Linked DNA regions of Homo sapiens: all the other regions are linked to region 1. Evidence: promoter capture Hi-C in 16 types of primary human blood cells and fetal thymus (Javierre and others, 2016). All regions are on one chromosome and are shown on one strand. Each heading gives the region's core, a stretch centred on a gene start or on the middle of the fragment in contact. The rest is flanking DNA. Distances are from core to core; before and after follow the strand shown.

Region 1 (3,025 bases), core at 187-2,686:
AGATCTTTAACTCCCTAGGATCCCAATAAATATATCTTCATTTACCTATCTATTTTCACTTGCAAATATTTCAGTATATATCTCTAATATATAAGAACTTTAAAAAGTAATCTCAGGCTGGGTTGGGGGGTGCTCAGGCACAGGCACCCAGCACTTTGGGAGGCAGAGGGGGGCAGATCGCTTGAGCCCAGGAGTTCGAGACCAGCCTGGGCAACATGGTGAAACCCTGTCTCTATTAAAAAAAAAAAAATTAAGCCAGACATGGTGGTGTATGCCTGTGGTTCCAGCCACTTGGGAGGCTGAGGTGAGGGGATTGCTTGAATCGAGGAGTTCGAAGCTGCAGTGAGCAGAGATCGTACCACTACACTCCAGCCTGGGTGGCAGAAGGAGACCTTGTCTCAAAATAAATAAATAAGGGTCACCTCAGTGACATAAGTACTTTAGTACATCTAACAGAATTCACAAGAATTACTTGTGAATTGCTTGTACTCTGCCTACCTTCTTATTTCTCCATCTATCTTAAAAAGGTCTTTTTACAGTTTGTCCAATCAGAATTATAATGAGGCCACAAATATGTTGTATTTGCTTGATGTGTCTGTAAGATCTTCGTATCTATTACAATCTCCTGCCCTCTTAAAGCCCTTGATATGTTAAGGAAGCACGGTTGTTTTCTATAATTTCCCATATTCTAGATTTGGCTAATTGTTTCTTGGTAGTACAAAGTCTTCTAAGTTGTTCCTTTACTCTCTATATTTCTGGTAGCAAGTGTGATTAGATTTTGGGTGGGAGGAACCGGGGTCAAGAATGCTTCACAGACAGGTATTTCCTAACTATCAAAGACCCTTGAACTTGATGGGACTTTCCATTTTTCCTTGTTCTGGGGTATTTAATATGGTAACCTGATTGAAGTTCGGATATCTCACATGACTTTGAGCCGAACTTGCAGTCGTAATTCACATAATAGCTAACACATATTAAGTGCTTTTCATGGGCCGGACTCAATGCTAGGCCCTTTATAAATATGTTCATTTAATCTTCTCAATATTTTGCAGATAAGGAAAGTAATGCTTAGAGCGTTTAAGTTGACCCAGTTAGCAAGGATGGTGTGAATTTAGGGGTCGAACTGGAATCCCAATTTCCTTAGTCCCTTTCGCGGTCAACAATTCCCTTCTCCGGTTTTCGCAGTTCCGGTTCTCACAGGGTCCCAACCACTAGGAACCCGTCACTCCTCGCTCCGCCCCCCTTGGCCCCGCCCCACCCTGCTTTGCCCTGCCTCTCCCTGCCCCGCCGCGCCCCAGTCCCTTGACGACCCTCCTCTCTGGGCCCCGCCCCTCCCGCTTCGGGGTCAAGCCCCAGAGAGCGCCGCGAAAACCACATTTCCCAGAGTGCACCGCGACGGCAGGGGTCCTCAGACCGGCGCTCGCTCGCCGGCGCCATCCCTATAGAGAAGAACGGAGGTACGGCCTGTGGTCATGGCGCTGTTCCCAGCCTTTGCGGGGCTTAGTGAGGCTCCCGATGGCGGGAGCTCCAGGAAAGGTAAGCACACAAACGAGCCGAAGAAGGCACCTGGGGGGCTTAAGAGGCTGTTTCTCGGGCCCAGGTCTAGACTTTTGCTTTGGATTTGTGTATCCATTTGTATCCCAGAGTTCTCCGCGGCGCTGCAAAGCCTTCTGGGAAAGGCTCAATCCCTCCGAGGTCTGGGGCCCAGAGGCCTGTTCTGGACCAAGGTTGTAGAGTTATGGAGGGGTGGAGAAAGACCAGCAGATGCCCTGGAGCTGGGACTTCTGTACGATGTTGTTAGGTCCTGTTCTTCTTTTCGAGCCTCAGTTACTTCATCTTTAAATTGGGAATAATGATACTCGACATCTCGAGGAAACCCTTGATGCAAATGCAGAATGTTTTTATTACATATTACTTCCTTTCCTGTTATACTTATTTCTGAAATGCTTATTAGATTGGTATTACTTAGCGGCCTAGAGCTAGGGGATTAGTATCCAAAACCTAATCAGTTTCTCTCTGGAGGGGCACAGCACCCAGTGAAAATAACTAACATTTATTCTTGAGGGCCTAGTGTGTATCAGGTTATGGCTTTACACATTTTACTTAAGTCCCAGACATTTCCAGCAGAGCTGCATTGTTCAAAATTGGGGTACATAGTTCATTTAAGAAGTAATTAATCCTGGCCAGGAGCAGTGGCCCACACCTGTAGGTGGAAGGATAGTTTGAGCCCGGGAGTTCATGACCATCATGATCAACATAGCGAGACTCCTGTCTCTTAAAAAAAAAGCCAGGCGTGGTGGTGCACACCTATAGTATCAGCTCCTCAGGAGGCTGAGGTAGGAGGATTGCTTGAGCCCAGAAGTTTGAGGCCGCAGTGAGCCATGATCGTGCCGCTGCATCCTGCCCTGGGGTGGGGGGACCTTGTCTCTAAAAAAAAAAGAAAAAAAAGTAATTCTAAATTATGTGCCATATGTGACAGGGCGCAATTGAGTCTTACCTGTCTGTTATATCCTCTAATATAGTTCCTACACTTTCTGTAACGTTTCTCCTAATTTTTTTTTTTTTTTTTGAGACAGGGTCTCACTCTGTTGCCCAGGCTGGAGTACAGTGGCACTGTCATAACTCACTGCCGCCTCAGACTCCTGGGCTTAACTTCCTGCCTCAGCCTCATGAATAGCTGGAACTACTGGTGTGCACCACCAGGCCTGGCTAATTTTTTTTAATATTTAGTAGAGACGAGGTCTCACTGTGTTGACCAGGCTGGTCTCGAACTCCTGAGCTCAAGCGATTCTCTATCTGAGCCTCCCAAAGTTCTAGGATTACAGGCATGAGCCACTGCGCTTGTCCTATTTCTCATAATTGTGAGTAATTTCTTGTGTAAAATTGTTGTCTTCCCTTACTAGACTGTAATCTCTATCAGGTTGGGCAGTGTTTGTCTATTCATTGTAGCATAGTTAGCCCCTAGCACAGGTCCAAAGTATAATAGGTGTTCAATAAATATTTTCTGGATGTACAGATCGATAGT
Region 2 (3,156 bases), core at 325-2,824, 350 kb before region 1:
GTGAAGAGTCTTGTACGTGTTTCTTTTTTCCCCCTGCATCTACATGTTTCTTAATGTGTATATATATATGTGTGTGTGTTTCAGTCAGTCAGGCATACTTTTTTTCATTGTATTTCTTCTTGTAAGAAGCAGTTGAGGTAGCTTCGACAATTAAATGCACATTAGACTAGATAGTTAACACAAAGTAAAGCAGAAGATTAAAAACAGCTATTGTGGATACTGGTTAATATTGGATAATACTTCCAAGAAGCAGATGATGAAAAGATTCATTGAATGCTAGTGAGTGCCAGGCACTGTCTAAACTCCTTTGTAGGTCTCGGCGGAAAAGGTAATTATCATGGAATATTGAGTGTAGATCTGAACCTCCTGGTTTCCAGTTTTTGGTAAGGATGGGAATGCTGTTTAAAATGGAAAATGGAGGGGTCTTGGCCGGGGAGGGCAGAACATCCCGAGCCAGGCACTGGCCAGGCCCTTCCGTGGACACAATAAATCCTCAAGAGCTTGCAAAAATAAATAAATAAAATAAAATGGAAAGCAGAGGGATGTTGAAGGGTCAGGATGACTTCTTGATGGCCGAACCAAAGCTGTGTAAACGACCAGCTACACCGTTGGCTGCCTGTCATCTCCTTGCCTCTGGTGTACACAGCCCACCTTGGAGTTGTGGAGAGGCCCGTCCTCTCAGCAGGAACATGGAAACACTTGTGCAAGGTGATGTTCTATGTGGGATTCACCTGACCCACTCAGCAGAGTGTAGCCCAGTGGACCTGCACTGGGCTGCGTGAGGGACCCTTCTTTCTTTGTCATGGGGAGATTTTTGACCTATATGAATTGACACAAAATGGAAGCGTGGTGAGGCCTCGATAGTCCTTACATCAGACTAGCTGATCCCTAATAATCAAGATGCACTCTTAATTTTCAATTTAAGTCCTATTCCTTTTTTGATACCCATTTATCCACATAAACCTGGGATCGACAGTAGATTCTGCCTTGGCATGTTTGCAGACAGTGTGACTTGGGGTCGGGGTGGGACTTCAGCCATTCTTGGCCTCCATGCCTCAGCTCTTACCTGGCTGGCTGTGGTTCAGAGGCTGTGTTTCTCCAGGAATTTCCTGGTAGTATCTCAGCCAGACATATTAAAATTATAAAGGAACCATTACTAGACCTTAGAGTTGATGTTGTCATTATTTACAAATCAACTTTCTCGTGGGTTGGCAGTGTTCAAGGCCCTCCCTGCACCTAAATAGAGAATTTTAGGGGATGCCGGTGACCTTTAGACCTCAACTTGTCATTAGTTATATAATGGCTAACGATGACAGAAGAGATGAAATGCAGTTGGGTAAAGTTGGATTAATTTCTTTTGTATGATTGTGTCTACCATTAAGGTAAAGTTTCTACCTTTCGGAGGAAATTTTTAAGAAAAAGCTATTATGTGGGAGCCCTGGCAAGATGATGATTACTACTTATACCTGAGAATTCTCACCCTTGTTCCCTATGTCTTCTGTAGAATCAGAAAATGAGTTGGTAAATTCATCCAAAGTAAGAAAATGGGCAGTTTGCCTAAAGGTCACCCAGTGAGTTGGTGGCATGGCTGGGACGAGGACGCACCCTCCCATTCTCAGCGCAGCAGCTGCCCCACTGCCGCCTCCTTTGCCAGCCTGCCAGCTCTTGGGAGCTTGTCCTCATGCCTGCTGAGCCCTGTTTTCTTCTTGTCCCCTTTCGTCCCCCACCTTCCCCTTCACGCAACTTCCTCTGGATCTAGGGCCCCAGTTTTCCCACTCTTCAAGGCTGAGGCCTGGGTACCCCAGTATCTCCCCCTGAGGCTCGTGGGCCCCAAAGAGGAGAAGGCCACAAAAGGAAGGCCCCAACAGTTTTGACCCGTTCACCCTGAGCTCCATCCATGCTTCCCTGAGCAAACAAGAGGGAAGGAATTGGCCGGAAATGGGTCTAGAGAATTCATAATGATTGAGAGGGAGCCTTCTAATGTGTAGTTGTTTAGGTATGTCTCTTAAAACTACCTTTTCTCCCCCGGCTCCTGCTGGCCTTGGGAGCTTTGCAGTGCTCCTGAGTACCCACCTTGCCTGCCACAAATAGGGAGGGTAGAGGAAGTGGAGCTGGATTCGGTTAATGTGCCACTTGTTAGCAACTATGGTAAAAATAACACAAACTAGCATTTAAGCAGGCTGGATGGCTCAAACAGAATTTGGAGATTAGCCATGGACTGAATTGACTGCTGTTAAGTCACAATTAGCATAGGCTGTCTGTCTTTTCAATTGGTCTGGATAATGCAGAACCGGCTAGCCATGAAAAAAAAAATGATTCATGTTACTGCTTTATTTGCAAGATCCTAGTTGCATGTAACCACAAGCCAGGATATCAGGAAATGATTGCTGGGCATGGGTGTGCACATATGGGTGTGTGCGTGCACACATACACACAATGGTTCATGTTACTGCTTTATTTGCAAGGTCCCAATTGCATGTAACCACAAGCCAGGATATCAGGAAATGATTGTGGGGCACGAGTGTGCATGTACATGCACACACACATACACACACACACAACAACAACAACAACATACTGAGGTGGTTGTTTGGGAGACACTTAATTCAGAGCCTTTAGGCTCTATTCCAGAATCTAAGGGGAAAGAAGTGTCCCATCTGAAAAACCCAGATCATCTCAAGCTGACTTCTGAAGCAAGTCACTGCACATCCCCGAATCTTGCTCCTCATTCTCAGGCCAGCCTTTTCATAAAATTTTAGCCTCAGAAGAATGATAGAAACCATCCTGCAGGTGGCTTCCTTACCTCCAGCGGTATCAGCATTGTAACGAGAATACCAGGCGCTGCATTCCTCCTGTCTTGCTCTTTATCATCCTAAGATGCAGTACAAAAATTGCCAGCACTTCAAAGAAAACAAATGTTTGTAATTATGTGGAAATCCTTTTTTTTTTTTGCCTTTTATTGGGGGTGTGGGGAAATCCCTTCAATTACATGATTGTAATATTATCCCTGGGAAGACATAAACTTAGTTGTTTTTAGTCATCTTCAAGATATCTAGGAGTTTTTTTTAAACCAAGTTCATTTTTATTTATTGCACTCTCTTCGTCCATTTCATGAAAAAATATTGAGTTTGACCCAATTGGTGATAACATTCACAA
Region 3 (3,051 bases), core at 138-2,637, 500 kb before region 1:
AATAAGGAAAATCGAACCGCGGTTTTAGGTCCGGGCTCTGGCAGGCACCGCCTCCGCCCCGCCTCGCCCCGCCTCGCTCCGCCCTGCGGCCCCCGCCGCGGCCCCGCGAAGGATCCGCCAATGAAGCGCCCAGGAACTGCATGACCTCATCAGGAGGCTCCCTCATTGGCTGCCGCCGCCGCGCCTGGTCGCCTCGTTCCGTTCGATTCCAGAAAGCCGCGCCGGCCCCAGTCCCCATGGGCTGAAGGCAGGTTGAGTTCTTCCCCAGGTCTGCGAGCCTCGAAGGCTTCTTTCAGACAGCAGACCCCTTAGAAGCGCAAGGCTGCTTTCTGACAAAGAATCAAGTGTTCCTTTCAACCAGCCAAGGGACTGGTTTTCTCGCTGACCCTTTGACAGGTATGTTCCCGGGATTTTGCTGGGACCTTCATCTTCCCCTCCCTACGTCCGTGACACATCTGGCTTCCCACTCGTTTCAGTCGTGTATTCCGTGGAGTTTTCTCTTGCTTCGCAGTAGATGGACTTCTGAAGCCCCACCTTACTGTTAAATGCCAGTGATCATCTCCCCCCACAGCTAACTCGGGAATTAGTCCACTGACACCCCCAGAGAGGGGACACGCCTTTCACAAGGTCACACGGCAGGTCAGTTACAGAGATGAAAATCAAATCCAGGTTTCCTAACTTCAAGAGTTTTTTCAGATGCCTTATTATTATTATTCGTTTTATTTTTATTTTTCATTTTTTATTTTTTTGAGATGGAGTCTCACTCTGTCACCCAGGGTGGAGTGCAGTGGAGTGATCTTGGTTCACTGCAATCTCTGCTTCCCGGGTTTAAGCGATTCTTCTGCCTCAGCCTCCCGAGTAGCTGGGATTACAAGTGCCCACCACCACACCCGGCTAATTTTTGTATTTTTAATAGAGACGGGTTTCATCATGTTGGCCAGGCTGGTCTCGAACTCCTGACCTCAGGTGATCCACCCGCCTCGGCCTCCCAAAGTGCTTGGGACTACAGCTGTGAGCCATCTCACCTGGTAATTATTATTATTTTTTTTTTAATTTGCTTCCTGAGAGCTCAGAAAGGAACCTCAGCTGTATGGGAGCACCCATATACCAATCCCATTCCAGCCACTCTCACTTTGACAGGACAGAATCAACGACCAGAGCCCAGGACCTCCTTGACTAGCACTCTCCTCTTACAAATAAGGAAACTGAAGGGTACCTGATCATGAACAAGCTGATGGGCAGCACTTGACCCAGACCTTTTACTTCTTACCCCTCCACCCCAGTTTGGACTCCCAAATGTGGGGAGGAATGGAATGCCCTACCAGTCCCCAGGGAATGGTTCATGCAGTCAGCATGGTTTTAGTACCTTTAGCATTTGATTTGGGAGAAAGATAATAACCAGAAGTGTCTGTATGCCTCACCAGCTGTCCAGCAGATCCCATAAACCTTCACCCCCAACCCTTCTGACCACCAAGTGCTTTGCTGCAGGAAAGGAGACCAGATTGTTGGGTTTTTCTCATCTGATGGTCGGGGGTGATCTGGGACTGCATATGTCTGAATACTGGGACCCTATTTTGAGTGCAAGAGTTTTGAAAACCCAGGACCACTTTGTTAGATGGTGAGGGTTGGTGAGCAGACTGGACCTGAGATCCTTTTTCAAGGCTTGGCTTGGGGGCAACATTCTCCAGGAAGACTTACTGGAGCACCCACCACAGTTAATTCCTGGCGTTCCTCTGGGTCCGGCTGCAGAGCTGTTGCTCACTTCTTTCCCCCACTAGACTGTGAGTTCCTTGAGGGATGGGACCATACCCTACACAATATTGTATCACTAAGGCCTAACACTGTGTCCGGCACATAGTAGGTACTCAATAAACGTTTGTTGAATTGAACTGTGGAAACCTTGCACCCTATTGGCCTTGTGCAGGGGAAGATCACTCACAATTCCTCACTGAAGCAGATCCTGTGTCTATCAGGCTCCTTCACACAAAATGAGAATTAGTTTCTTTTTTTCACAGTAACGTGTCCGAAGTGCAAACTTCAAACCTGTTTGCTGATACAACTCCCCAGGAACAACCAGGTCCCTTGTGCCCACCTAGTTCGTGATTTCTCTTTAAAACTCCTGATGTCAGCTGGGCGTGGTGGCTCACACCTGTAATCCCAGCACTTTGGGAGGCTGAGGTGGACAGACCACTTGAGGTCGGGAGTTCGAGACCAGACTGGCCAACATGGTGAAATCCCGTCTCTACTAAAAATACAAAAATTAGGCAGGCGTGGTGGCATATGCCAGTAATCTCAGCTACTTGGGAAGGTAAGGGAGGAGGATCACTTGAACCCCAGAGGCAGAAGTTGCAGTGAGCCAAGATTGTGCCACTGCATTCCAGCCTGGGTGACAGAGCAAGACTTTAATCTCAAAAAACAAACAAACAAACAAACTCCTGATATGTGAATCAACAACATCATTTAAATCAAACCATTCTGCCAGGCGCAGTGGCTCACACCTGTAATCCCAGCACTTCGGGAGGCCGAGGTGGGCAGATCACCTGAGGTCAGGAGTTCAAGACCAGCCTAGCCAACATGGTGAAACCCTGTCTCTACTAAAAAATGCAAACATTAGCTGGGCATGGTGGCAGATTCCTGTAATCCCAGCTACTTGGGAGGCTGAGGCAGGGAGAATTGCTGGAACCCAGGAGGCGGAGGTTGCAGTGAGCTGAGATCAAGCCACTGCACTCCAACCTGGGTGACAGAGTGAGACTCCATCTAAAAAAAAAAAAAAATTAAATAAATAAAACCATTCCACGTGTTTTCTTCTGTGCCTGGTCTGCTAGGAAGCTCAGAAATCAGTCTAGCCTTATGCTGAGGAACAGTCAGTCTCCTCCCTGTTGGCAGATACACCTTTCTCCCCCGTATCTGAATAGTTTCCCATCTTTACTTTGATGTTCATTTACAGATATAGGTGGGTATTTTATCACAAACCCAGTCTATGCCTTTTTTGGAGAAGATAGGACAGGTGGGGTACAGGGTAACACGGAAGTGTCCCCAGAACTCTGAGTG
Region 4 (2,961 bases), core at 204-2,703, 390 kb before region 1:
GGAGTTAGAACTGTACTCGGTATTGTGTGTATTCTACAGGATATGAGACCAGTCTGGCTGGAGTGATGGTTTCTGTAGACATCTGGGGATGTTCCTATAAAGCTTTCAGCATGGGACCTGGCATGCAGTGGGTTTGGTCAGTTATTCAACGAGTATTTGTTGAGTTCTGCTAAGTACCAAGTACTGTGCTCAGTACTAGTATATGTTGGCCAATATAAGAGACATAGTCCAGGCTCTCAGGGAGGAGACAGTCTAGTGAGGGAGACAGATAATATGTAAGTACTGGTCATATATAATTACAAATTGGAATAGGTGCTAGGAAGTGAATGGGTGCAGTGAAAGCAAATAACAGAAGGCCCCTGCTTAGATAGGGTGGCCTGGCCAGGTCTCCGGAGGAGGTGACATTGAGATGAGACCAAGACTTGCAGGGTGAGAAGGAACTAACCAGGTCAAGCACAGGGGAAAGAGAGCTCCAAGGAGTGGGTGCAAAATGTGCAGAGGTCTTGACCCGGGAAAGAGCTTGGAGTGTTCAAGAATCAGAAAGGAGTCCAATGTAGTAGAAGCATTGGAAGGAGGAGGGTCACAAACTGTCTCAGTCTGGCTTACCCAGAAGAAGGAAGGTCCACTGTGCAGCATATAGTGGGAGAGTGATGGTTGTCCAAAGAAAAGTCCCTGAGTCACCAGGACAAAGGGTAGGTGATACTAGGTGGTGAAGACATTAGATGTGTATCTTAGAGATAACAAAGGGTATAGAGACCAAGAGAAGTGGATGCATTTGAGATGTCTGTTAGAACTACTAGAGTTAGGACTGCTGGTGGATTGGATTTGGGGGACAGAGGGTAAGGGAAATGGAGGAACCAGAGATGACTCCCCAGTTTCAGCCTTGAACCATTGGTTAGATGCGTGGAGACAAGGAGAGGATCAGATCTGGAAAAGGAGAAATCAAGAATTTGCCTTTGGCATGTTAGGTTTAAGATGCCTGTGAGATGTCTAAGTGGAAGTGTCAACATGACCAGAAGACGGGTTTGACTTGAGTTATAAATGGGGAATTTCAGCATATTGATTATATTTAAGGCCACAGGATTGAATGAGATCAGTGAAGGGGCAGAGAGTAAAGAGAGAAGACAGCCCAGGACTTGGCCTGAAGACCTGCAAGAGTTGGAAGTTGAGTAAAGGAGGAGGATCCTGTGAAGGAACTGCCAGAGGTGGAAGGGAAATCGTGAGGGTGTGTCCTTGTGAAAGCCAAAACGGGAACCTGTGCTAGGAAAGAGGAAGTGGTCACCTGTGCTGAATGCTGCTTAGATGTTAATAAAGAAGACCAAATTGTGACCCCTGGATCAGATACCATGGAAGACATCTGTGACCCTGAACAAACTTGGTGGAGTGGTAAGAGCAGAAGCTGGACAGGGGAAGTTGAGGAGCAGATGATACAGGATGAATTGCAGCTCTGTATACAGGCCACTTCCTAGAAATGTTCTTCCCCTTCCATTTTCTTTTCTAAGGTGGAGTTCATGCTGGAAGGACCGATGGCAGAATGATGGTGGAAGATTAAACAGCAGGCTAAGGAATAGGGAATTCATTCTCTAGGTGTGGAGAAGCCATTGGATCTGGAAGGTGGGGTTTTGGGAAGGGTCAAGAACAGGGTAGTTCATTTGGCCACCAGGAATCTAGTGCCACCAGAGCCACGTCCCCCATTTTAGTAGGATCAGGTTCATTTTACTTGGTTTTTGGCCACAGGCTACATTTTAACCTCAGCAGGAACCATACTAGGAAGGTGGGGATGATGGAGGGAGGGATAGAGCCGGGAGGGACAGAGCCAGGAGGGAGTCTGTGTGAGAGCTGCTTTAACAGCTTCAGAATGGAAGTTGATGGAGTAGCGTGAGATATAGGGCGCCTTCCTGCAGCCTGGCCAGCTAAGGCCAACTTGGGGATGCCACATGTCGCCTGGGCACTCACATGTCTGGAAGACTTGACTCACCTAGATCGCTGTTCCACGCTCTTCATATGAGTCATTTCACTTTGAAGGGAGATCTTCGTAATAGTTGAACTGATGGTGCAGTTTCTATTCGGAAAATCCGGAAGCTCCAACAGCTGTTAGAGAGCATTTGTTTCCATCACTTCTCTTGATACATGAGATTCAGAGAAATCCTGTTCACTAATTATTCAACAAACATTGATGGAGACCCTTACTAGGTTACTTACTAGTGCCAAATACTGTTCTAAGTGAATGAGTCAGACCCAGTCGCTGGCTTTATGGAGTTTATGTATCATTGGGGAAACAGTTGATTAGCAAGGTAATATGATTTTCTTCAGGGTCACACAACTGACTAGGGCAGAGCTGGGACCTGTCCTCTTGCTCCTGTCTTCCAGTTCAGTCCTCTCATCAGTTGGGCCATACTGACCATGCCCTGTCAGTACCTTCTTGAAAATGGAGTCAGGAGCAGCATAGCAATATATTACACTTGAAAATTAAGGACCTTAAAAAGCTAGTCTATCGTCTTCTAATTGGTCTCACGTAATTAAAAAAATAAAGATAAAGCAAGTCTAGACGTAATTATGTATGAATAAAAAGCATCAGCCCGATCTTATCTGTTCTGTTTAAATGTGGGCTAGGTCTTGCTCATCCCTTAATGCCATCAAAACCTTAGTGTGGAAACAAAAGAATCTCTAACGATTTTAATTATGAAATTCCGAAACCCCTCTTTTCAGTGATGAATTGTGGAGACAGGTAATTACTTTCAGTGTACTTCACAAGTGCTAGCACTTAGTGAGGGTTAGAGATCTGATGCCGTCAGAAAGCTTCCTCAGCATTCAGCAAGATGGGTGCGTTTGTGTTGATCTCTCCTTGGTTTCAGCAGAAAAATGGGGTGGGTCATTCTAAGCTTCCAAAGTCGGGGAGGAGGTTAGTGATTGGCATTTAATTGTATCTCCCAAAGGCCCCTCCCTGCATGGTTTACCGGT
Region 5 (2,955 bases), core at 445-2,944, 410 kb before region 1:
TGTAATCCTAGCACTTTGGGAGGCTGAGGCAGGTGGATCTTCTGAGGTCAGGAGTTTGAGACCAGCCTGGCCAACATGGTGAAACCCCATCTCTACTTAAAATACAAAAATTAGCTGGGCATGGTGGCGGGCATCTATAATCAGCTACTTGGGAGGTTGAGGCAGAATTGCTTGAACCCAGGAGATGGAGGTTGCAGTGAGCCAAGATTGCACCACTTCACTCTAGCCTGGGCCATTGAGCAAAACTCCATCTCATAAAAAAAAGAAAGAAAGAAAGAAAGAAAAATAGATGGTTCAGTGTTTGTGAAGCATTTTAGCATCCTCTGAGCAGAAATGACAGTGTGCATCTGTTCATACCTTCAGCACCCTGAAGCTGGCCAGCCACCCCTGTCTTCCTAATAAAATGGGTTGAGCTTCATTTGTACTTGTATGGACTCTGTGCCAAGACCTGTTCATCTGGGGCTTGGGAGGCCTTACCTTGACAGATATGGCAAAGGTGCTGGGGACGTGGACCGAAGTAGACCGAGCTGAGTACATCGGGTATCCCCGGAGACCATCAGGGATGGTCTCAGCCTTCAGTGCTTCGCCTGTGGTGTGGGTGATGGAAACGAGCAGCTGACAAGAGGGCCTCTGAGCAGAGAACGAGTGAGCTCGGGGTTCTAAGCTCGCAGCCTCAGACAGAGGAGGTTGGAGGCTGGAGGCTGGATGGGGCCAGGGAGGTGGAGGCAACATGCCTGTTTCAGATTCTCATCTTTGGGTTCTACTCTTTACTAAGTTTCTTCACCTCTCAGCCTCGATTTTTTCCGTCCATAAAAAGAACATAATCATAGTTCCTACTTCATGAAGCTTTTGTGAGGATTACATAAGGTCTTGTGAATAAAGGCACTTAGCCCAGATTCGTGAACATATTGGATTCTTGGTAAATGTCACTTATTTTTATTAATAACAATAGCTCCTAGCAGTTGCTGTTGCTGGCAGTGTTTCCTGGAGTTCTCACCAAGGACACTGCTATTGACCCCTTCAGACCCAGAGATGTACCCTACAAGAGTGTTTGAAATGATTAGAAATCCTATGAGACTTTGAAAATGATTGGAGGTCTTGTTTTCCAGCAATTTTCTGGGCTCCTTGTTTTTGTAAAGATTAGAATAGAGAGAGACTGCCAAAGTCTCCCTAGCTTTTGTTACTTTATAAATGAACAGACAGGAAGTAACTTTTTTTCATAAATCATATTGTCATGTGTTGGTGCATATGATATGCATCAGAATTGCCTTTTTAGGAGGCAGGGAGATTAGAGTGAGAATCACAGCAGGAGAGGTGGAGAGAGTGATGGGAATAACATTTGACCTGGCCTCAACCAGAATGGATTATAAGCCATGGTTTAAGATATCTGGGAATTCAGGAAGATACATGTCTGTCTTGCCAGAATTATGTTCTATCAGAAGGTTGCTATGAGAAGAGAATTTGTTGTTGTTATTCAGAATTTACGATATGATCTTTAAAGGAATGATCATCCAGGCTCCTTTAAAAACCTCCATTATTTCCACTGTCTGCCTCCTTGATGGACCGTGCTTGGCAGTCGAGAAGTCTGCTTATCCCATCTGAGTTGTTCCAGCTGACTACACAGCCCTGGCCACTTAGGGCCCTATCTTGCTGCTTACTCTCCACTGTTGTCCAGCCCTGTCACTTTGGAGCCGTCTTCTCCCGGCTGGGAGAAAGGAGGCTCATGTGTTACATGTGTCTGTAGTGATGTAGGAATTGGTAGATCTGAATACACTTCTGTTATGTTCACTCACAACACCCCATTCAGTGCTGGGTTCTTCAGCAGGAACATCAAGGAGGCTTGTATAGTCGTAGGATTTAAAAGAAATCCTTTTCTTTGATTTTGGGGAAATGGTGATCATAAGATGTTGGATTTTGAGAAGAAACTTGAGGTCTAGAAAGGGAGAGCCCAGGCACACAGAAAGTTAGGCCAAAACTAGTTTTAGAACTCCACTCACACGACACCTAGCTTAGTGCTGGCTCACTTTATTCTCCCAGGCTGCTGCAAACAAAGAAAAAGCATGACATTTCTCCACACTCTTACTTAGAGAAAGTGCTCAATAAGGCTGGGTGTGATGGCTCATGCCTGTAATCCCAGCACTTTGAGAGGCCGAGACAGGAGGATCACCTGAGGCCAGAAGTTTAAGATCAGCCTGGTCAACAGAGTGAGACCTTGTCTCTACAAATGAAGAAAGAAAGGAAGAGAGAAAGAGAGAGAGAGAGAAAGAGAAAGAGAAAGGAGGGAGGGAGGAAGGGAGGGAAGGAGAGAGAGAGAAACAAAAGAAAAAAAAGAAAGAAAGGAAGAAAGAAAGAAGCGAACGAAACGAAATGAAACGAAACTAGCTAGGCATGGTGGCAAGTGCCTGTAGTCCCAGCTACTTGGGAGGCTTAGGTGGGAGGATTGCTTGAGCCCAGAAGTTCGAGGTTGCAGTGAGCTATGATTGTACCACTGCACTTAAAAAAAAAAGTCAATAAATATGTTTTATTTGACCAAGTAAGCTTTAGCTTTTGGTAGCATTTGGGAAGCAGCTTCTTTAGCCTAAGGTTAAATCTCAGCGTAGGTACACGATTTTCAAATTTCTGGCTCTGATTTTCAAATTTCTGGCTCTGGCGTTTTCTTTTTTGGAAAACCAGTTTGGACCTCCCCAGATTTCAGCAAGCTGAGATATTAGCAATGAGAGAGATTGAATGAACCCAACATCTGTTTTGACTGTAGTAAGTACTCAAGAAACTAACTGTTGATTAAGCAGAAGGCTAGCGAGGAGAATAACCTTCCTTAGGTGACCAATGGGCTTGGTGGAAAGTTTGCAGGTTTTTATGTGGCAAGATAGTTGTGTGTTATGCAAGAGATACTTGATTGGCCTTTTTCTTTTTTTAAATGTTGAACTTAATTGACTTAATTTTGAACTCAGTAAG
Region 6 (2,994 bases), core at 132-2,631, 430 kb before region 1:
CCTTTAAATCCTCTGGATGTCACTTCTGTTGGTGTATGTGGGGTGGCTTGCAATAATGAAGGGAGGTGCAGCAACAATGGCTACTGCCTCTTTTCTGCACCCCTGTGATCAGAAGCAGCAGTCAGTGATCAGAACACAGATACCCAATATTTGGAGGACAGGGTGCTCTTTGCCCACCCTAGCTCCTGCAAGCTTTATATTTGCTTCTCTAGGAATGTGTTCACAGCTTCTACTATGCTAAAAGCTGAAATTAACTGCAATTTACCATCAAGCTTTCCCCTGGAAATTGTAAGCCTTCAAGAGACCCTGGAGTTCCAAAATAGTTATATTGAACAGATTGTGCCAGTACAATAGTTGTCTATGTGGGAAGATAGATTCCTGGTGCTTCATAGTCCACCATCTTCCCGGAATTCTGTTTATAGCTTTTTAAATAACAGATTTATTGATATATAACTCATATACCATACAATTCAACCCTTTAAAGTGTACAATTCAGTGGGTTTTAGTATATTCAGAGTTGTGCAACCATCACCACAATCAATTTCAGAAAATTTTTATTACTCCAAAAAAGAAACCTTTACCCATTAGCAGTCACTTCCCATTTCCTGAACCCCCACCCCAACTCTATAGCCCTAGTCAACCACTAATCTATACCCTGTCTCTATAGATTTGCCTAGTCTAGAAATTTTGTATAAATGAAATCATGCACTTGACTTTTTGTATCTGGCTTCTTTTCATTTAGCATAAAGTTTTAAAGGTCCTTATATGTTGCTGCATGTGTCATTTCTTTTTGTGACTGAATATTACATTGTATGGATATACCATTTTGCATATTTTGTTAATCCATTCATCAGTTGGTGGACAGCAGGTTATTTCTATTATTTGACTATTATTAATAATGCTGCTATGAACATTTGTGTACAGGTTTTTTGGTGAACATAATCCCATCCAAAACATTTTGGGTTTTCATTTATCTTGGATGTATACTTAGGGGTGGGATTATTGGATTACATGGTAACTCTGAGTGTAAGTTTTTGAGGAACTGCAAGCTGTTTTCCAAAGCAGCTCACCTGCATGAAGGTTCTAATTTCTTCACATCCTCATCAACACTTGTTGTTATCTGTCTTTTTGATTATAGCCATCCTAGAGTGTATGAAATGGTATCTCATTGTGGTTTTTATTTGCATTTCCCTAATGATAAGTGGTATTAAGCAATTTTTCATGTGCTTATTGGCCATTTGTATATCTTCTTTGGAGAAATATCTATTCAGATTCTTTGCCCATTTTTAATTGGGTTATTTGTCTTTCCATTATTGAGTTGTAGTAGTTCTTTATATATCCTAAATATAATTTCTTTTACAGATATATGGTTTGTAAATATTTTCTACAATTTTGTGGGTTGTCTTTCACTTTCTAAGTGATGTCCTTTGAAATGCAAACATTTTTCATTTTGATTAAGTCCAGTTCATTTTTTTTTCTTTTATTATTTTTGTTGTTTTGGTTTTGTATCTAAGAAACCATTGCCTAGTCAAGTTTATGAAGATTTACTCTTGTGATTTCTTCTATGAGTTTTATAGTTTTTACTCTTAAATTTAGGTGTCTGATCCATTTTGAGTTAATTTTTGTATATTTTTGTGAGGTCAGCATCCAACTTCATTCTTTTTGTATGTGGATCTTCAGTTGTTTCAGCCCAATTTTTTGAAAATACTGTTCTTTCTCCATTGAATTGTCTTGGCATCCTTGTTGAAAATTAGTTGAGCATATATGTAAGTGTTTATTTCTGGACTCTCTGTCTGTACCACTGGTCTGTATGTCTGTGCTTATGCCAGTACCACACTGTCTTTATTACTGTAGCTTTGTAGTAAGTTTTGAGTTTGGGGAGTGTGTTTTCTAACTTTGTTCTTCTTTTACAAGATTTTTTTGGCTTACATTTCATATAAATTTTAGGGTCAGGTTGTAAATTAGTGTAAGAAATAATTCTTGGTAGGGATTGTGTTGAATCTGTAGATTGATTTGGGAAGTATTGCTTTCTTAACAATATCAGGTCTTCCAATCCATGAACATGGGATATCTTCTTTAATTTCTTTCAAAAATGTTTTGTAGATTTTTTTGGCATTCAAGTCTTACATTCCTTTTGTTAAATTTATTCTAAGAGTTCTTTTTTATGTTATTATAAGTGAAACTATTTTTTAAATTTCAGATTGCTCATTACTAAGGTATAGAAATACAGCTCATTTTTGTTTATTAATCTTGTATCCTTTAACCCTGCTGAGCTCATTTATTAGCTATTATATTGTTTTTGTGGATTCTTTAGGGCTTTAAAATATGTAAGATCATGGCATTTGCAAATAAAGATAATTTTACATTTTCCTTTCCAATCTGGATGACTTTGTTGCTTTGTATTGCCTAATTGTGCTGGATAGTATCTCCAGTACAATGTTGATTAGAAATGACCAGAGTGGACATCCTTATTTTAGGGGGAAAGCTTTCAGTTTTTCACCACTAAGATGTTAGCAGTGGCGTTTTCATAGATAGCCTTTATCAACTTGAAGAAGCTCTTTTCTATTTCTAGTTTGTTGAGTGTTTTTATCATTATAGGGTTTAGACACTGTCTAATTTTTTTATTGCATTGTTCGTGTAATTTTTGTGCTTTATTTTTTAAATATTGCATTTTACGTTGAATGATTTTCATATATTAAACCAACCTTGCATTCCTGAATTAAATCCCATTTGGTCATGGTATATGATTTTTTAATGCATTGCTAGGTTCCATATGCTAATATTTTGTAGGGGATTTTAATACCTATATTCATAATAGATATTGGTGGTATTCTTGTGATGCCTTTGGTTTTAGTGTCAATGTTACGCTGGTGTCATAGGATGAGTTGTGAAGTGTTCCCTCCTTTTCTGCTTTTTGGAGGAGTTTGTGAAGAATTGGTGGTAGTTCTTTAAGTATTTGGTACAGTTCACCAAGGAAGCCATCTGACCCTGGGC
Region 7 (2,936 bases), core at 16-2,515, 370 kb before region 1:
CAATCCCATCGGCACTGTGCTGCCTCAAACTGAGCAGCACTGCTTTGTTTCCCCAAGAAAAATATCAGAGGCTTTTATTTACCAATTTAATGGCAAAGAGCCTCCCTTCCCTGTTGAGTTTCTATGTTATGGTTTTGAACTGGAGGCCTGTAGGCTTGCGACGCCTGTCGTCCCACAGTCTGTCTTCACCCACCTCTGCTACCTGCTTGGCTTCTGCAGCCATTTGGACTGCTGACCCCTGCACATGTAATGGTCTTTTTTTTTCCCTTTCTTTCAAATGATCCCCTTGGATTTTTTTCTCACTGTTCTAGCTTTGAAATGTGGTCGCCAGAGTTGTGTTGGAAATGCAGTTCTCCTGTCAATTGAATGGAAGTGAACGTTGCACTCTTATCCTCACACTCGAACTTCCAGCTCAAGTGCTTGTGGTGCGTTTGGAGGGACTTTCCTCCCCTTGACATCCTTTCTGCCTTTTTTTCCTCTCCATAGCCCAGTCGAGGGGATGGACAGGGTGGCCAGAAGTTCTTTTCCTATGTGACTTTGCCACTCAGAATTGATGAATGAAGTCATTTTGTTAGCAGGACATTTTTACCTTCCAGATTGTCTTTTTTCTGCACTTTTCTGGACTATTAAAAACGAATATTGTTGGCCTGTGCCCATCAGTGTTCTGTGCAGCTAATTGAGCCCCGTCTTATGAAGCAGGCTGACGGGGACCCCGCCCTCATGCTTGTCTTCCAGCTCTGGCCAGGTCTGGAGCAGACACTTCCCCAGTGGAAGTGGCGAGCTTTCCTCTCCAGCTTTGTGTTATGGGCTCATAAAGCTTTAGTGGTTCACTTTTGAGTTCAAATTTTTTAGTGTGATCTGGCCCTTCTTGATGAACTCAGAACAGTCTCCACACGCTCACTGTGCTAAGTGTGATGGAGCAGTCAGGATTCACACCTGCCAGACACGCGGTCATCTGTCCGTGCCCCACCCCAAAGCCGTGGCTGGAGACTGTTCCCCTGCCCCCGTCAGGGGCACCAGCACTCTTAGGAGATGTCACATCATTTCCCAGGAGGGTGACCACAAGGCCCCAGAGAAAGTTTTTTACTGTTCTTACCTGACATGGGTTGTCTTTTGTCATTGTGAGCCAGACCTGGGAATTACATAGGGAGTTCCTGGGACATGGTAGACTTTCAGTAAATAGCAAAGAGGATCAATGAATCAAACTGGGGAATATCTTTTTTCCTTCAAAATTAAATGACTTCAAAGAAGTAAAGCAGATTTTCATATGCTATAAATTGACTGGAAAACAGATTCCAGAATTCCAAAAGTTTTTTTTTTTTAAAACAATGATAGAGTTTTGAGGCTAACAGAAGTAATAATGGCAAATACTTAAAAAGCACTTCCTACATTTACTGACTAGTTTAATTCTTACAACAAATCAATGAGGTGGATACAGTTGTTACTGACTAGTTTAATTCTTACGACAGTGAGGTGGGTACAGTTACTCAATGAGGTGGGTACAGTTGTTACTGACTAGTTTAATTCTTACAACAGTGAGGTGGGTACAGTTACCCAATGAGGGCAATACAGTTGTTACTGACTAGTTTAATTCTTACAGCAGTGAGGTGGGTATGGTTAAATGAGGTGGGTACAGTTGTTATTTCCATTTTATAAGGAAACTGTGGCACAGGCACTTGCCCAAGGTCAACAATTAATAAATGGCAAAGCTTGGACTTGAACTCATGCTGTCCGGCTCCAGGGTCTGTAACCATGACTCTATTTTGTCTCTTTACATTCGGGTATATAGATAAACATATGGATTCCCGGGTGAAGGACAATCCTTATATGATAGATAAGTTCGGATTGGTTTGTTTTAAGTATTATTAGGTTGAGGAGTCCAAGTGTGTTTGGATACCATTAGGGTTAAACTGAACATCATTAAAATACAAGTTCATGAGGACTCACGTCTGCTGACTGGCTTACCATTGCGTTCACTGTGCCTCACTTCTTAGTGCATAGTAGGTATGAGTGTTCTCTCTCTCTCTTTCCATATATATATATATATATATATATACACACACACACACATATACATATATACACATATATACACACACACACAGATATATATGGAGAGAGAAATATATATTTGTGTGTGTGTATATATATATATATATATACGTTTCTTTTGGAATGAGTACTGATATTCTTTGACTCATTCCCAGAGGTTGAAAGGAAGGATGTGAGATGGGGCAAGGCTTTCTACACTTCCTGTTTCTCAGAGACTCGGAGCTTAGGGGAGTGGAGGGGACAGGTGAAGGGCAGGCGAGTTGCTCTTCTGGCTGGGCTGTCAGAGCAGTCTGGCCACTTTTCATTCTTAGGCCTTGTGCACGCCTGTTGGAAGGACTTGTTTATGTGTTCCTGTCCTGGCCCCTGAAGTATGAACTCCAAGAAGCCACTCTCTGTGACTTCTTTGACTTTATGTGTCTGGTGCCACTTACACTGCCTGGGCCGTAGTCCCTACTCCCTGTACTGTGTGCTGCCTGGCCGGCTGACCAAATGTATAATTGACTCTGCTTTTGTCACGAGGAAGCCTCAATTGCTGAGGTAGTCCAAAAAATGTTGTTAAGCCCAGTACAGCTCTCATAAGGTTTGAGGTGAGACATCCGGAAGCCTCGCCTGCTTGTTCTCATCTCGGCGTGGATGGCTGTCACACCCTCCGTCACTATATCCAGGCTGCAGCTGGCTTGCTCCATGGGTAAGAGAGAGCCCTTCGCTAACGAGGCCAAGGTTGTGGGTTTGATCCCTGGCCCCTGACTGCAGCAAGCCATCTGTCTTCACAAATGCGTGTCATTGGATATGAGGAGGAGAGTATGTACAGAGGGGGAAGCTGGACTCCATTCTGGGAAAAACAGCTCCCTGACAGCCGGCCACAGTGTCCTTTTGGACTGTGA

The links. The method cuts DNA at HindIII sites, captures the fragments that hold promoters and counts their contacts. A CHiCAGO score of 5 or more calls a contact.
Region 2: a contact is called between a fragment that was not itself captured here and the fragment with the promoter of NRDE2 in region 1, in 1 of 17 cell types (naive CD4 T cells). The highest score is 5.6, in naive CD4 T cells.
Region 3: a fragment that was not itself captured here is called in contact with the fragment with the promoter of NRDE2 in region 1 in 2 of 17 cell types (total B cells and monocytes); the score reaches 6.0 in total B cells.
Region 4: a fragment that was not itself captured here is called in contact with the fragment with the promoter of NRDE2 in region 1 in 1 of 17 cell types (endothelial precursors); the score reaches 6.0 in endothelial precursors.
Region 5: a contact is called between a fragment that was not itself captured here and the fragment with the promoter of NRDE2 in region 1, in 7 of 17 cell types (total CD8 T cells, endothelial precursors, naive CD8 T cells and 4 more). The highest score is 7.0, in total CD8 T cells.
Region 6: a contact is called between a fragment that was not itself captured here and the fragment with the promoter of NRDE2 in region 1, in 14 of 17 cell types (total CD8 T cells, total B cells, naive B cells and 11 more). The highest score is 9.7, in total CD8 T cells.
Region 7: a fragment that was not itself captured here is called in contact with the fragment with the promoter of NRDE2 in region 1 in 6 of 17 cell types (naive CD4 T cells, non-activated CD4 T cells, erythroblasts and 3 more); the score reaches 6.6 in naive CD4 T cells.

The regions. Positions count from the first base shown.
Region 1 is chr14:90,330,352-90,333,376 of GRCh38, reverse strand. NRDE2 (NRDE-2, necessary for RNA interference, domain containing) reads left to right here and starts at 1,436. Exons shown (of 14, transcript NM_017970.4): 1 at 1,436-1,536. The coding sequence starts at 1,473. RefSeq lists a silencer at 1,203-1,352 and an enhancer at 1,503-1,682. The HindIII fragment of the contact is 5,093 bases long and covers 1-3,025 here.
Region 2 is chr14:90,681,284-90,684,439 of GRCh38, reverse strand. All of the region lies in intron 7 of TTC7B (tetratricopeptide repeat domain 7B), which reads left to right. Among named protein-coding and RNA genes, the nearest start is that of TTC7B-AS2, 14 kb to the left of the region's middle. RefSeq lists an enhancer at 1,666-2,166. The HindIII fragment of the contact is 4,032 bases long and covers 1-3,156 here.
Region 3 is chr14:90,825,334-90,828,384 of GRCh38, reverse strand. It overlaps LINC02321 (long intergenic non-protein coding RNA 2321), which reads left to right and starts at 211. Exons shown (of 4, transcript NR_184259.1): 1 at 211-396. RefSeq lists a silencer at 1-180. The HindIII fragment of the contact is 3,534 bases long and covers 1-3,051 here.
Region 4 is chr14:90,721,098-90,724,058 of GRCh38, reverse strand. All of the region lies in intron 5 of TTC7B (tetratricopeptide repeat domain 7B), which reads left to right. Among named protein-coding and RNA genes, the nearest start is that of TTC7B-AS2, 25 kb to the right of the region's middle. RefSeq lists an enhancer at 1,552-2,751. The HindIII fragment of the contact is 2,697 bases long and covers 105-2,801 here.
Region 5 is chr14:90,741,631-90,744,585 of GRCh38, reverse strand. The region is part of intron 4 of TTC7B (tetratricopeptide repeat domain 7B); the gene reads left to right. Among named protein-coding and RNA genes, the nearest start is that of TTC7B-AS2, 46 kb to the right of the region's middle. The HindIII fragment of the contact is 1,692 bases long and covers 849-2,540 here.
Region 6 is chr14:90,762,930-90,765,923 of GRCh38, reverse strand. All of the region lies in intron 3 of TTC7B (tetratricopeptide repeat domain 7B), which reads left to right. Among named protein-coding and RNA genes, the nearest start is that of TTC7B, 52 kb to the left of the region's middle. The HindIII fragment of the contact is 2,213 bases long and covers 275-2,487 here.
Region 7 is chr14:90,700,917-90,703,852 of GRCh38, reverse strand. All of the region lies in intron 5 of TTC7B (tetratricopeptide repeat domain 7B), which reads left to right. Among named protein-coding and RNA genes, the nearest start is that of TTC7B-AS2, 5.1 kb to the right of the region's middle. The HindIII fragment of the contact is 892 bases long and covers 820-1,711 here.